Regions from separate parts of the Homo sapiens genome. Here region 1 is linked to region 2. The links are contacts of gene promoters, found by promoter capture Hi-C in blood cells and fetal thymus (Javierre and others, 2016). All regions are on one chromosome and are shown on one strand. Each heading gives the region's core, a stretch centred on a gene start or on the middle of the fragment in contact. The rest is flanking DNA. Distances are from core to core; before and after follow the strand shown.

Evidence for each region. Contacts are between HindIII fragments. The CHiCAGO score rates a contact against its expected background, and 5 or more counts as called.
Region 1: a fragment that was not itself captured here is called in contact with the fragment with the promoter of CER1 in region 2 in 1 of 17 cell types (total B cells); the score reaches 5.1 in total B cells.

The regions. Positions count from the first base shown.
Region 1 is chr9:14,622,493-14,629,235 of GRCh38, forward strand. The region is part of intron 8 of ZDHHC21 (zDHHC palmitoyltransferase 21); the gene reads right to left. Among named protein-coding and RNA genes, the nearest start is that of ZDHHC21, 68 kb to the right of the region's middle. The HindIII fragment of the contact is 188 bases long and covers 4,914-5,101 here.
Region 2 is chr9:14,717,566-14,724,331 of GRCh38, forward strand. CER1 (cerberus 1, DAN family BMP antagonist) reads right to left here and starts at 5,168. Exons shown (of 2, transcript NM_005454.3): 1 at 4,601-5,168; 2 at 2,159-2,821. The coding sequence starts at 5,107. The coding sequence ends at 2,525. RefSeq lists enhancers at 4,316-5,255, 5,256-6,193. The HindIII fragment of the contact is 2,921 bases long and covers 5,123-6,766 here.

The DNA.
Region 1 (6,743 bases), core at 3,758-6,257, 95 kb before region 2:
GGGATAAAGAGCAAGAATTTATCACCAGAGGTTTCCTGGTTAACAGACCTGAGAACCCAGTCCTCTTGGCATAGAGCGCTTGATGATACAATCCATCCAACTAACTCATCCTGTTTTGAGTTCATTCTCACCAAGCAACACTTTGCCACATATGTTGTCATACAGGAGAAAGAATGTGCTGAAGAGTCCTTTGGCACACCTGACAATCGCACATAAAGGAATAAACAATCTGTTATATGACTATCTCTTTTGAGTCTGGAAGTAAGAGCCATTGCCTCTGGACCTGTTTAACCCTGCAAACAATTTCAAAATGGAGTTTCTAGACCTGCCAAACTGCAGACCTGAGGAAAGTAAGAAAATTCTTTTCATTAGACTCCTTGAAGACAGTTCAATCTAACCTCAATTATCCCCTGCATTCTTTATTATTATAGGTCTTGTTGATGCTTCCAAGTCTGCTACACGTAGTTACCTAATGACTCTATGGTGATTTAATCTAGAGTTTAAAACACTGTTCTATACACACAATCTACTCAAAATGGATCAAAAACTTCAATGTTAAGACCTGATCCTATGAAACTACTGGAAGAAAACATAGAGGAAATGCTTTAGGACATTGCCTGGATAAGGATTTTTTAGGTAAGACATAAAAAAAAAAGGCAACAACAAAAAAAAAAACAGACAAATGAGATTACATCAAACAAAAAAGCTCTGCATAGCAAAGGAAACAACATAGTGAATGGCTGGGTGCGGTGGCTCACGCCAGTAATTACAGGACTTTGGGAGGCCAAGGCAGGTGGATTGCTTGAGGCCAGGAGTTCAAGACCAGTGCAGCCAATATAGTGAGAGCCTGTCTCTACAAAAACAAAACAAAACCTTTAAAAAATTAGCAGGCATGGCATGGTGGCATGTGCCTGTAGTCCTCGCTACTTGGGGGACTTAGGTGGGAGGTTTGCTTGAGCCCAGAAGTTCAAGGCTGCAGTGAGTTATGATCATGCCACTGCACTCCAGCTTAGGTGATAGAATGAAATCCTGTCTCTTAAAAAAAAAAATACATTGAAGAAACAACCTAAAGAATGGAAGAAAATCTCTGCAACTATACATCTGACAAGGGGTTAATACCCAGAATACATAAGGAACACAAACAACTCAACAGAAAAAAAAAAAAAAAGAGAGAGAAAACAAAAAAAATCTGATTCTAAAACAGAGAAAAGATTATAGAAATGACCAACAGGTATATGAAGAAATGTTCAACACCACTAGCCATCAGAGAAACGTAAATCAAAAACCACAATGGGAAATCATGTCATCCCAATCAGAATTATCCCAGGGTATTATCAAAAATACAAAAGGTAAATGTTGGCAAGGATGTGGAGAAAAGGGAACCCTTACACAGTCTGGGGAAGAACCTTTACTCTTGTTGGGGAAAGTGTAAATCCATGCAGTCATTATAAAAAACAGTATGGAGGCACCTCAAAAAGTTAAAAACAAAACTACTATATGATCCAGCAATCACAGCACTGGGTACACTGTCAGCCCTCCATATTTGTGGGTTCTGTAGCTGTGATTCAATCAACCATGGATCGAAAATACTTTAAGAAAAACTATTTAAAAAAATAAATAATAATATGAATTAAAATAATATAGTTTAACAACTATTTACATAGTATTTACGTTGTATCGGGTATTATAAATAATCTAGAAGATGAATTATAGTACAAGGGAAGATGTCCATAAGTTATATTCAAATACTACACCATTTTACATAAGGAACAGGAGCCTCAATGGATTCCGATATCCCTGTGGGGTCCAGAAATCAATCCCCCATGGAGAGTGAGGGACAACTGTATATTCAAAGGAATAAAATCAGTATGTCAGAGTCCCATGTTTATTGCAGCACTCTTCATAATAGCCAAGATATGGAATCAACCTGTGTCTAACAGCAGATGAATAAAGTAAATATGGTATATATACACAATGGAATACTAATCGGCCAAAAAAAGAATGAAGTACGATCATTTGTGATCACATGCATAAATGAAATAAGCCAGTTAAAGAAAGACAAATACTGACTGTTCTCACTCATATGCAGAATCTTAAAAAAGGTGATCTCACAGAAGTATGAATAGAACAGTAGTTAGCAGAGACTGGGGAGGGTAGAAAGAAGTGAAGGATGGGGAAGAGGATGGTCGATGGGTACAAAGTTACAATTAGAAAGGAGTAATAAATTGTGGTGTTCTATTGCACAGCAGTGTGATTACAGTCAACAAAGTACTGTACATCTCAGAATAGCCTGAAGAGAGGATTTCGGATGTTCTCACCACAAATAAATGAAAAACGTTTGAGGTGATGGATAAGTTAATTACTGATTTGATCATTACATTATGTATACAAATATTGAAGCATCACATTGTACCCCATAACTATGTACAATTATTATATATCAATCAAAAATTTAAAAATTAAAAACACTACTCAGGCAAGTTTTTCACAATTAGAGAAAAACTTTGCCTGCTTTATCTATTACTAATTTATATTAATTCTAAGAAAGACTTTCATTTCACTTCTTAGCACCTCTGATTAGTATATGAACAGTAGCTCATTTAACTTTAAATTTTTCCATAGCACTTAGCAGCACATACTGTACAAAATGGTCAACTTAATATAAATTTGCAGCACTAAACTAATTGGACATGAACAGAAATAGCATGATTCCTTATTTTTAGTTTTGTTTTCAATCAAAAGAGGGAAATGTCCTGTTAATCTTAGCTCTGTCTTCCTTCTACTTTCCTCATTTGAAATGAATGGTTCTTTAAGCACCCATTTCCAACAAAAGACCAGCTATGTCTTTTATCAGGGATCTGAAGTTCACATAAACATCGAATCAATCATAGAACAAAAGTGAGAAGGCAACAGATCTTATATTTATAGACACTGAAAATCTCTTTCCAAAATAATCCTCACACTTCTCTTAATCTTAAATGCCACTTTCTGACTGTATAATCTAAAGAAAATTGCTAAAACTCTATACCTCCATTTCCAAATAATAACGCTTACCTCATAGGTTTTTGTGGGGATTAAATGAGTTAATTATGTCAAAACCCCTTATAACTCCTCAATAAATGGCAGTCTTAAGATTTTAGTGATACTGCCTACTACCTACTTTTTGAGAGGGCTTGGAAAGAAATACCTCAATTACCTCAAAATGTAACTTTTCAACATTATGTTTAAACAAACAAACAAGTGGTTTTATAATGAAAAATAAAATAATAGGGACTACAAGAGACTACACATATAAAATCCTATGCCCTCTAAGAGCTTATAATCCAGTTGAAAAAACAAGTCCTAAATATGTAAACCATGATTCATTCATTCATTTATCCATCTATCAAAAATTTACCAAGTATCTATTATGACACAGTCCTTAGCATCATGGAACTTACAATCTAGTAAAAGTAGTCAAGTATACAGGAAATAATTATATAGTAACATAGAGAGGAAGCCAGCAAGGATGATTATATACAATAATGTTTTGTAGAAATAAGTCTCGCACTAATCAGAATATTTGGAACAGCTGAAAAACTGTTTATAATCAAAACTCAAATTTAACTACTCTTACACTTTTAACACCAAAATTATACTTTGATAAGATTTTTGGTTATTAGTAGAAATAAGATGGGCATTTAACATGCCCCTTTGGCTGAGATTCAGGGAATAATAATATATCAATAAAATGTACATAAATTATTGTGCCAAAATACCATAAGCAAACCATAAATATAAGATTTACTGCTTTCTGCAGTCCTATGTTTTAATGTCAGATTAAATATTTGTGTGGATTCAGATCATGAAATAATAAAATGAATATCTAGGAAAAATTGTTAGTAAAAGGAAAACCCATAAATGTTTAGTTTCCTTACGAACACTTTTTAAGCATCTATTTAATCACTCAAGCAATCAGTAGTGATTTAAGGACATATAAATAAATTATAGAAAAAGATTTCTTTTTAATTAGTTTTATCAAAAATACTTACAAGCAGTTTATTACACTGAGCAAACAGAAATTATGCAATATAAATATGCTTTTACATAGGAACATGCATATGCTAAAGAGTAGCCCAATTCCACACACCATAATTATCAAAATAATTTTGATAATTTTTTTAAAAGAGTATTTCATGTAAATATGAAATATAACTTGGTATTTAAGCAAATGCCCTTGGCAAGGGGGAACCTAGTTTTTTATAAACTTATCATATACAAAATTCTAAAAAATATTATACCCAATTTTACTATATGACATTAAAAGCATATTTAAAAAGAAGGGACACTTTAAATTTTAATTAACTTTCTAGGTTTTAAAAAAGCTATAAAATCTTTCATATAATATTACAATTGGGAATACTACATTAGAAATACATTTATTTTATTTTTATCAAGCAAAAATTCAGAGGAAGACAAAAATGCCTTACAGAGCTCCCTTTATAGAAGTATATGTGAGCTGGGGTCAGCATAATTAGCAATGATGTTCATGTCTGCAATGCTGACCTGGAGCTGAGTACATCAAACATAATTGTTATAAAGAGTGTACTGAATGCTATTAATTCAAAATAATTTGGCAGAATACTAGGCAAAATTTAACTATAGGAATTAATCATTTGAGGACTACACTTCTGTGTATAGATTAAAAGGCAAGTAAATCGACTGATTCGTAAAATGCTGTTTACTAGACAGTCTCCTTTAAACTGATTTCACACTTGGAACACAAGATACTTTTCAGTGAGTAAGGTAGCCAAGTTAAAACTGTCACCCCTGCATTTATGATTTCTCCTGTATTTATTTAAGTAAACATTAACTTGCTGAGTTAAATATGAGCCAGTATTTAGGGGGGAAAACATTTTCTTCTTAATTTGAAAAGCTTTGATTTAAGCTATCTTCAGCAATTCAAATAGAATCCAACAATAGCACCTGTGAAACCAAATGCAAAAATCACTATTTTTTTGTTTGAGAATTTAGTCTTTTACAAAATTGCAACTAAATACATCTGTCTCACCCTACCCCCAACCTCACCACAACTGAGAAAATCTCCAGAGACATCATCAAAAGCTTACACTATTATATAAACTCCACAGAGCCCAGAAAACAAAAATGCTTGTATATAAAAATTAGATAAACTGTCAGAGCAGTGTCATGGTACACAATAGCTCACTGTCAGAACCTCACCAGAATGCGCTGTACCAGCTGTTACAGCACTTCTTGATTAACTCTCTCCAAGCCCAGTGACTGAGAACATGACAAATACAATCACCCAGCACTATTAGTATTGGTGCTCATCAGAATGGACATTATTGTTGGCTATGTGTGAACTACTGCTCAATAATTCAGACAACATCAATTACATTAAATAACATCACTATCCATTTGATTCAGAAACAGCAAAAAAAAACCAAAAAACAGGCTAAACAGTCTGAAGTCTAAAAAATAATTTGACTAACCTGTTTCCCTTAATAAAAAATGCCTCGAAGTAGACTGATTTGAAAACATTTTTATTCCAATATAAATTGTAGTAAAAACGCACAAAAACGTATATTTAAATCCTGTTTAAAATTAAATCGAAAAATAATCACAGGTAATCCTTTTGAATTGGGCTTCAGATTAGTCTATTTAACAGAAACATCTGGTTGTGTTGAAATCTTTTAACCTTGAAAATGAGATTAGAATCCACTATTTTTAAGTTAAAGTAATTTCTAATTATTTTATCTGGGTCACAGATAATCTACTCTTGCTAGGTCTAAAATGACATCAGATTATCACTGCTATGATTATCCTGTTATCTTTCACTATCAACAGGAAGATGAGATAAATGATTTATTTATTCCAAGTAAAAATGAATAATGGTAAAAAATTACTGAAAAGTGATATGCTGCTTCCCTGAAACCTCAAGCTAAATCCCAAAGAGACAACACTTATTTTGCTTGTTTGATGTCTAGTAGGTCTATATTCAAGCTATGCAATAAAATAGTTTACGTAATGAAATGATATCCGTATCAGTAGTTTCCCAAAATGCCTCTAGGATCTTTAGGGTGCAAGAGTAGGGAAAAAGTAAGACTGCAATGGAAGGATTAAATTTACTGTGATTCTTTCTCCCACTTCTTTCTTATGCAACCTGACAAATTCGTCACTTAACACTGTAAAGAGAGATCCATGGATTCGAATTATGACAAAAACATGTGCAGATGTATAATTTCTTGTAATCTTAATTTTATCACAAAACAGCAAACTTATTTTATAAAGTAAGCATCATCTATATTTTAACTTAATTAAAATATTAAATAGTATTTAAGTGCTAATTTAATTCATTCGATTTAAAATTAAACACCGAATGCATTAGACTTTTAAATAATCAAGCCTCAAAGAATCTTAAATCAATGTGAGGAAGAGTATATTCTGGAAACCCTTTTTAATTTCTTTTTTAAACCCCAAAAGGGTAACGCTTGAGGTTCACTATGAAATCCCAGCTAAAGAGATTTAAAAATTCATTGTAATTCTAAAAAGTACTCGTATTCAAGAGAAAGTAAAGTGACTAAAGGTTAGGATAACAAATAGAATATATCCTCTCTCTTGCTTTCTCTTTCTTAACAATTCTTTTTTGATTGTTTTACAGAGGTGTAATTGCTATAGATACCAGCAGTGTCTGGTACAGTGCTCTGAGAGGTTACTACACATATGCAGAAAGAGATGAAACT
Region 2 (6,766 bases), core at 3,918-6,417:
GGAAAATGAGACCAGGATTTATGAAGAGGTGTGCCATGAGGACCAACGGAGTCAAGGAAATATTTGGCCGATAACCTGACCTAGAGATGATTTCTCTTTTGAGATATAACATCAAAATCCTTCAGATAGGAGAGCTAGGTAAGTGGTAAAAAGAAATTTGCTTTGAAGCCTATAGGCAAGAGACCTGGAAGAGTTCAATATAAACTGACAAAGAACAAATGAGCAAATATTTTAATCCAAAATAGAAAATATTCTCCAAATGCTCTTAGGCAAATTCTGAAACTTTTAAAGGCTTGCTTTTCTTACCCATAAAATACAGTGATAACCTACTTTATATAGTTTTTGTGAGGATTAAATTGTTAACTTCTTGTAAAAGACAGCACAGTATCTGGCACTTAATAAATGTTCAATATTTGTGTTTTTCCTCTTGGTTTCTTACAGTCTTACATATTATGTTCAACCTTTGTAAATTGCCTTTTTTGTAAGTAAAAATGATTGAATATGAGCAATTTTGTTGAATTTCATGCAATTATTCTATAAATGTAAGGTTTGATACCACTATCAACTATCCCATCTAGAATTTACATGCAAGGGAAGCGCAGACCAAAATTTGAATAAAACAGATCATTGTTTGGGGTTTGGGCTTGAGAGTCTATTTGCAAGGATGGATGAAACGGATTTACAAGCATGTAAGGAGGAGAAGGACAGTCCAATTGGCAGAGATAGGTTTTCATAATCAGGGTTAGGCGATTGCAATCATGACAGCTGTTTGATAGCTTTTGGCACCAAAATATATTGACCAGCTGAGATATCATTAATGCTTAACAATTTTATCCTTATGAGCATATCTTGGCCAGCTAGGTTGCCTTTGACCACCAAAGGGTATGATAATATATTCCAATGTAAATGCCATGTGTGCATCTGTGTAACTCACATTCATGTTGATGTGTTACAAAATATACACTAAATATAAATGCCTTTGCTTCTTTGGAATGTCATGTTAGATGGTGTGATTAAAGAGGAATAGAATTAAAATATAAATTGATTTATTTAAAAAAAACAGTTATTCTGGGAAATGTGTGTATGTGTGTGCACTAAAAGTAAAAGAAACCTAATTATTAAAATAATTTTTAGGAACAAAAATTTGAATAACTTAATAGAAAAAGCAGTCTGGCTGGGAAAAGGCAGTTCTGTACCATATATGTGTAAAAATTAACACAGACAGGAGAGAGGTGATTGAGAGACTTAAACAGAAGGCTGCTTACAGATCAGAAGAAACCCTTGGTCCAGTGTCATAAGTCTATGAAGACATTCCAGAAATGCTTCCAGCTAGGTTATCTCCTGATAGTACCTTTAAATTATGAGACAAAACAAGTAAGGGAAAAATATAAGAACATTTTTCAGAATGCTTCATATACTAAAATTTAATGCATTAAAATATCCAGAATATTTTCAGAACCTGTAATTTTGGTACTTGCTGAATAAAATTTATAATACAAAGTTTTATTAAATAGCAAAAAACAGTCATTCAAACATAGAAACCTTACTACCTAATTCAAAATGCATGTGAGTAAATAATTTTGCCTGAAGATTGAATTTTTGGGGGTTACTTTCATTAGCATCTCTGGATTGATCTCTAAACCTGGTAGTAGTCATGTATTTTTCCTTCCTCATAATATAGGTACTTGTTTGGCTACCAGTGATTGTTCCTCTTCCCTATATAAACTACTAAAATTAACATCACTGTTCCTTCTTCAAAGTCAGAGACCTGACATTAAGTACTTTATATGAGGAGTATTGTTAAAAAGGAGGCAACCAAGCAAGTTACTCCTTACATCTGTGGAAAGACTTAATCATCAGATAGAAGTCAAGTAAAACACTGTTTGGGTTGCAAAAGTAACTATAAGTATGAGAATCTTTCCTACAAATATTTCACGTAGCCTGCCTCCCTGCCTGCCTGCGTGCCTGCCTGCCTGCCTGCCTGCCTGCCTGCCTGCCTTCCTTCCTTCCTTCCTTCCTTCCTTCCTTCCTTCCTTCCTTCCTTCCTTCCTTCTTTCCTTCCTTCCTTCCTTCCTTCCTCCCTCTCTATCTTGCTTCTTTGCTTGCTGGTGATTTGACACACATTAAAGAAGCCCATTTTTATGGTCTCGCTTATTTCTTTTCCTTCTTTAGATGGAGGGCTTTTACCCAAACTTGGAGAAAATGCATCACGGAATATTAGTAGTGGAAAGGATTTTAGCAATCATCTAGGTCGGGTCCGTCATTTATAGATGAAAATCTTTAGATGGAGAAAGGTTTTACAACTTAACATTCTACGGCTAGTTAGTGGCAGAGCTGAGACAAGGTCTCAAACGTGTACCAATAACTAGACTAATATCATTTCCTCTATCGTTCTAATTTAAAACTACGTTTCAAGTCACCTTTCCCTGAAAATGTTATGTACCCACTTAACATTTTCAGACTGAATAATCAGCATCTTTGCTGTTGTGGTTTTGCTTTTCAAAGGTAATAGTGGGATAGCTCTTCAAGCTGAAACTCCTGGGATAAAGGAATCCTGGGAGCCAGCATGTAGGATGTGTCCATCTTCATGCTCCGTCTTCACCTTGCACTGGCACTCCTCCACCAGCATCACCACCTTGATCACGGAGGAAAGTTCAGTGCAGTTCAGTGGCAAGTGCATCGTGGTGAACTTGGCAGGCAAACAGTGAGAGCAGGAGGTATGGGAGTGCTGCGCGGCTCCAGGAAAATGAACAGACCCGCATTTCCCAAAGCAAAGGTTGTTCTGAACAACTACTTTTTCACAGCCTTCGTGGGTTATAGTCTAAAAAGCAAACACATTTCCATTACGTTATTTTGAATTATTTCTTTAACACACATAATGCAGAAGCTATGGACTGTAAATCTGAGGATAATTTAAAAATTTCAAAGCTTTCCAATTTTGGATACAATTTGCAATATGCAAGTGATGGTATCTATAAGGGCACAGAACCACCTCAATTAAATTTTCTTTATTGAGTAAATTATTAAACAGCCTTTAGGGAATCCCTAAGTTAACATAAAAAATATTTTACTCTACATTATTCGTGCAAAACCTTAAGCAATTTTGTCTAATTGGATGTGAGCGATTGAAAAATTCTAATGGTAATTATCTTACATAAGTAATGTGCCTTACTTTTTTATTCCTCACAGGGCTTTGTGCATAGTAGGCTCCCAATACATATTTGTTACATTGATCGTAGAATAGATCAGAACATTCTAGGTTTAATTCTATCCTATTCTGCAAGACCTGTAGTACATTCAAGTCTATGAAGTTGTATGCAAGCAGAGTTACAATGCATATGCCTGCAAATCATTGTATATTACATCACCTTTACCTCTCATAACTCCAAGCACCTAGCTTTATATGCCTTTCAAAATATGTAAGAGTCAAACATCTTAGTTTTAATTTAATTAGCAATAGAATTCAAAAGAAGAATTTCAAAAGAAATTTGATTGCCTGATTCTTAGGGGTAATTTTCTAATTGCACATGGCCAACAGAGTAGTCATTATTATTTGATAATTGACTTGCCATTGCTACATATCCTTGCCTTTTCAGGCAGAATACTTAACTGCCTTGAACAGTCAATTGCCCTATTCTATTGCTTGCTTAATTGGGTAGCATTACTCGACTATAAAATTTTACTCTACCCTGCATGTTTTTGGTTCAATATCTTCATGTTTAAGGACCTAATGCAAGTTCTCAATTTTAATTTAACATTTGGAATGTAGATATTGCCAGAGGAAGTAGACAGTAGGATGTCCCTTTGTCTTAATAGCATGGAATTGATCATAATAACTACAAATCAGCCAACACAACATGAATCAGGAGAAAGGTACTTCTAAGGGGAGGAGATATGATCTCACATCAAGATTGATTTTTTAAAAAGCTCATATGAGAAAATAAGTGAAAGAAAATCACTTTTTTGCTATCATAATACTAGAAATGATATGACAACTTTTGCCTGAGAACCTCAACGTACTTTGAGGTTGTGGGATAGCTTTAGCAAGCTATTAAAGAAGTCCCTCATAAACCTATAAAGTAATTAAGTATGGACTATGGGGATTAAGACCATCGTAAATGGATATGAGAGTATTTGGGAAGGAGTCCAATGCACCCCACTTTATCAACAAATGGAGTTGACCTGCTCATCCACATATTAATAGAGTGCAGAAAGATAGCTACAGAGGAGTTCTGGTGATTACTCTAAATTCTCAGTTTCCTAACTGAGGGTACAGTCTGACTTATATCTCTGAGTAGATCACCTCCAATGCAAAAATAAATAAATAAAACAGAGCTCTGTGTCTTCAGTGTGAATGAATGATTACTGATATTGACAGTATCATCATATCATTCTTGCAGCATTTCCACAATGCCAAGAAAAAATGGAAAGGCCAGAAGGAAACTTAATCTTTGCCAAATCCTATGATGAATGCCCAAGGACCAAATCTGTAGTTAAGCTAGAGTCAGGCTCCTGACAGCCTTTTCCCCTACTCTCCATCCATCCCAGCTGTCCACTACCACCTGCAAACTCTTACCTGCTCTCCCCCCAGAACACATACCTGGCTGAAGGGCACTGTCCTGCAGGTCTCCCAATGTACTTCATGGCTTTTGATGGGCAAGATGACCCCCTGAGAAGCCGGAGTTTTTCTGAACATGAAGTGGTGCCAGAATTTCTTGGCTTCTTCCCGAAGAGGAGATTTCTCCATTTTCATTCCATCTATCGGCTGGATGAGGGACTGGGTCCCAGGTGGGAAGGGCTCACTATCTGAGTCCCTGGATGGATGCATTTCTCTCTCAGGCTTCTTCCAGAACCTGCCAAATCTGGACAGCATCTTCTCTCTCTGCCTCTGGCCTTCCCCTGCAGGGCTGGTGGCTACAAGGTGTGGCACTGCGACAAACAGATCTGGCTTCTCCTCAGCTTCCTCATGGTTGCCTGTGGGAAGCTCTCTTTGATTCCTTGGCAGGAGTACGGGGGAAAGAGAACTCTGATTCTGGCGGCCATCCTGGTGCCGTGTGGTCTTTCCTAGAGGCAGGAGTACCAGCAGCTGAAATAAGAGGAGATGCATGCTGTCAGGGGCCCAAGCTTCTTTTGTAAATGATGAGGCCCAAAGGAGAGGCTCATTCTCTGCAGGACTGGGAAAAAGGAAATCGTATATATAGATACCTGCCTGGCGGGATGGGAAGGCAGGTGGTCAGTAGCCAGGCAGAATAAACACATTTATTGTTTGCTTGAATTATGTAGTGCTAATGGCCTCCTGCCGTCACTTTGGTTTTGTGTATTTTAAAAGGCCCCAGTGAAAGCCTGGGACCCAGGGGGTAATTAGCTAAGAGTTTAGCTATGTCTGGGGCTTAAAGAGCAGTATTAGCAAAGACAACACATTCTTTGCCTAAATTTCCCATGGCTGTTTTCAGAAGAAGGACTAGAGTCAGCTCACATTTGCTGTGCATCTGCCTTGTGCTGGAATAGAATAGACAAGACATGTTGCTGTAAGAGAAGTTTTTGGATAAAAATTAAAGGCATACATTTAGAAAAAGCCCAGGCCTTTAGGAAGGCTATTCACACACACACACACACACACACACACACACACACACACACACACACGAAGAAGTATATCAAAGTTGTAAGGAGAAGAAAGGAAGAGCTAGAAGGATGTTAATTTTTTTGAGCAAGGGACATATTGTTTCTTACTTACATGCAAATTGGGGTTATTGATTTTTGCACAGTAACTGAGTAAAGGGAATATGTTTTCCTTTCCACACGTAGAAACTCACAATTCCCAAGTTAATCCTCTCACATTAAGAATCAATTAATGGGTGCTAAATTTCACAACTGGTCAGTCATCAGATAAACTCTTCCAATTGTTCACATGTTCCTCAACAGGATACCACGTAATAGACTGACAGCTCATCAGTCTTCAATGAGGATAGGGAAATGTCTCCCTCCAGCCATCCTATTGATTTTTTTTTCCCTTTGAACAAAGAGCCAGACATGAGAACGTGGATTCTAAGAACCAGGTTTGATAACTTTGTGTGTGACGCTGGCTAGTCAGTTTCTTACCTTATTGAATCCACATCATCTCCCCTTGTTTTACACTAATTGATGGCCAGGCTAAATAAAGATTGACACAAATAAGAGTCTTCGGGGATCAAAGGAAAAATTGAAAAATAACTATCATTCAAAACTATCATGAATCAGCCTAGGATACGAAAAAGAAACACGTCCAGAAAACTGAAACCCCAGAATAGAGTCCGATCAGCCTACCACATGATTCAAACAGTATTTCCACTGGGAAGCAATGCAATATCTGCTTTTATTTCTCCCCTTTTAATTCAATCACTATATTCCTTGCTTTCAATAACACAAATAGTCCTGGAACATGTTCCCCCTTTTTTGTCAATACTGATTAAACTTTCTTTCCAAGAAGTGACCCACTGGAGTCTGTTTTCCAGGCATTTCTGTTCTTCTTGATAGCCATGCCTGATTTCTATGAAATAAAGCCTTAAGTAAGTCCCTTTACCCATGATAATGAGCTATTTTTAACATGGACCATCACTTTACCAGAATGCCATGAGTGGAGATATATTGTACTTGTACCAAATATCTATGGAACGTGTGCTAGTATTAATGAAAGGTGCTGTTGATATATAATAAATAAGCATGTGTATTTGCCATTGTTTTTTTTTATTTTAGGAAAAGGGTTCTGCTCTGTTGCCCAGTCTGG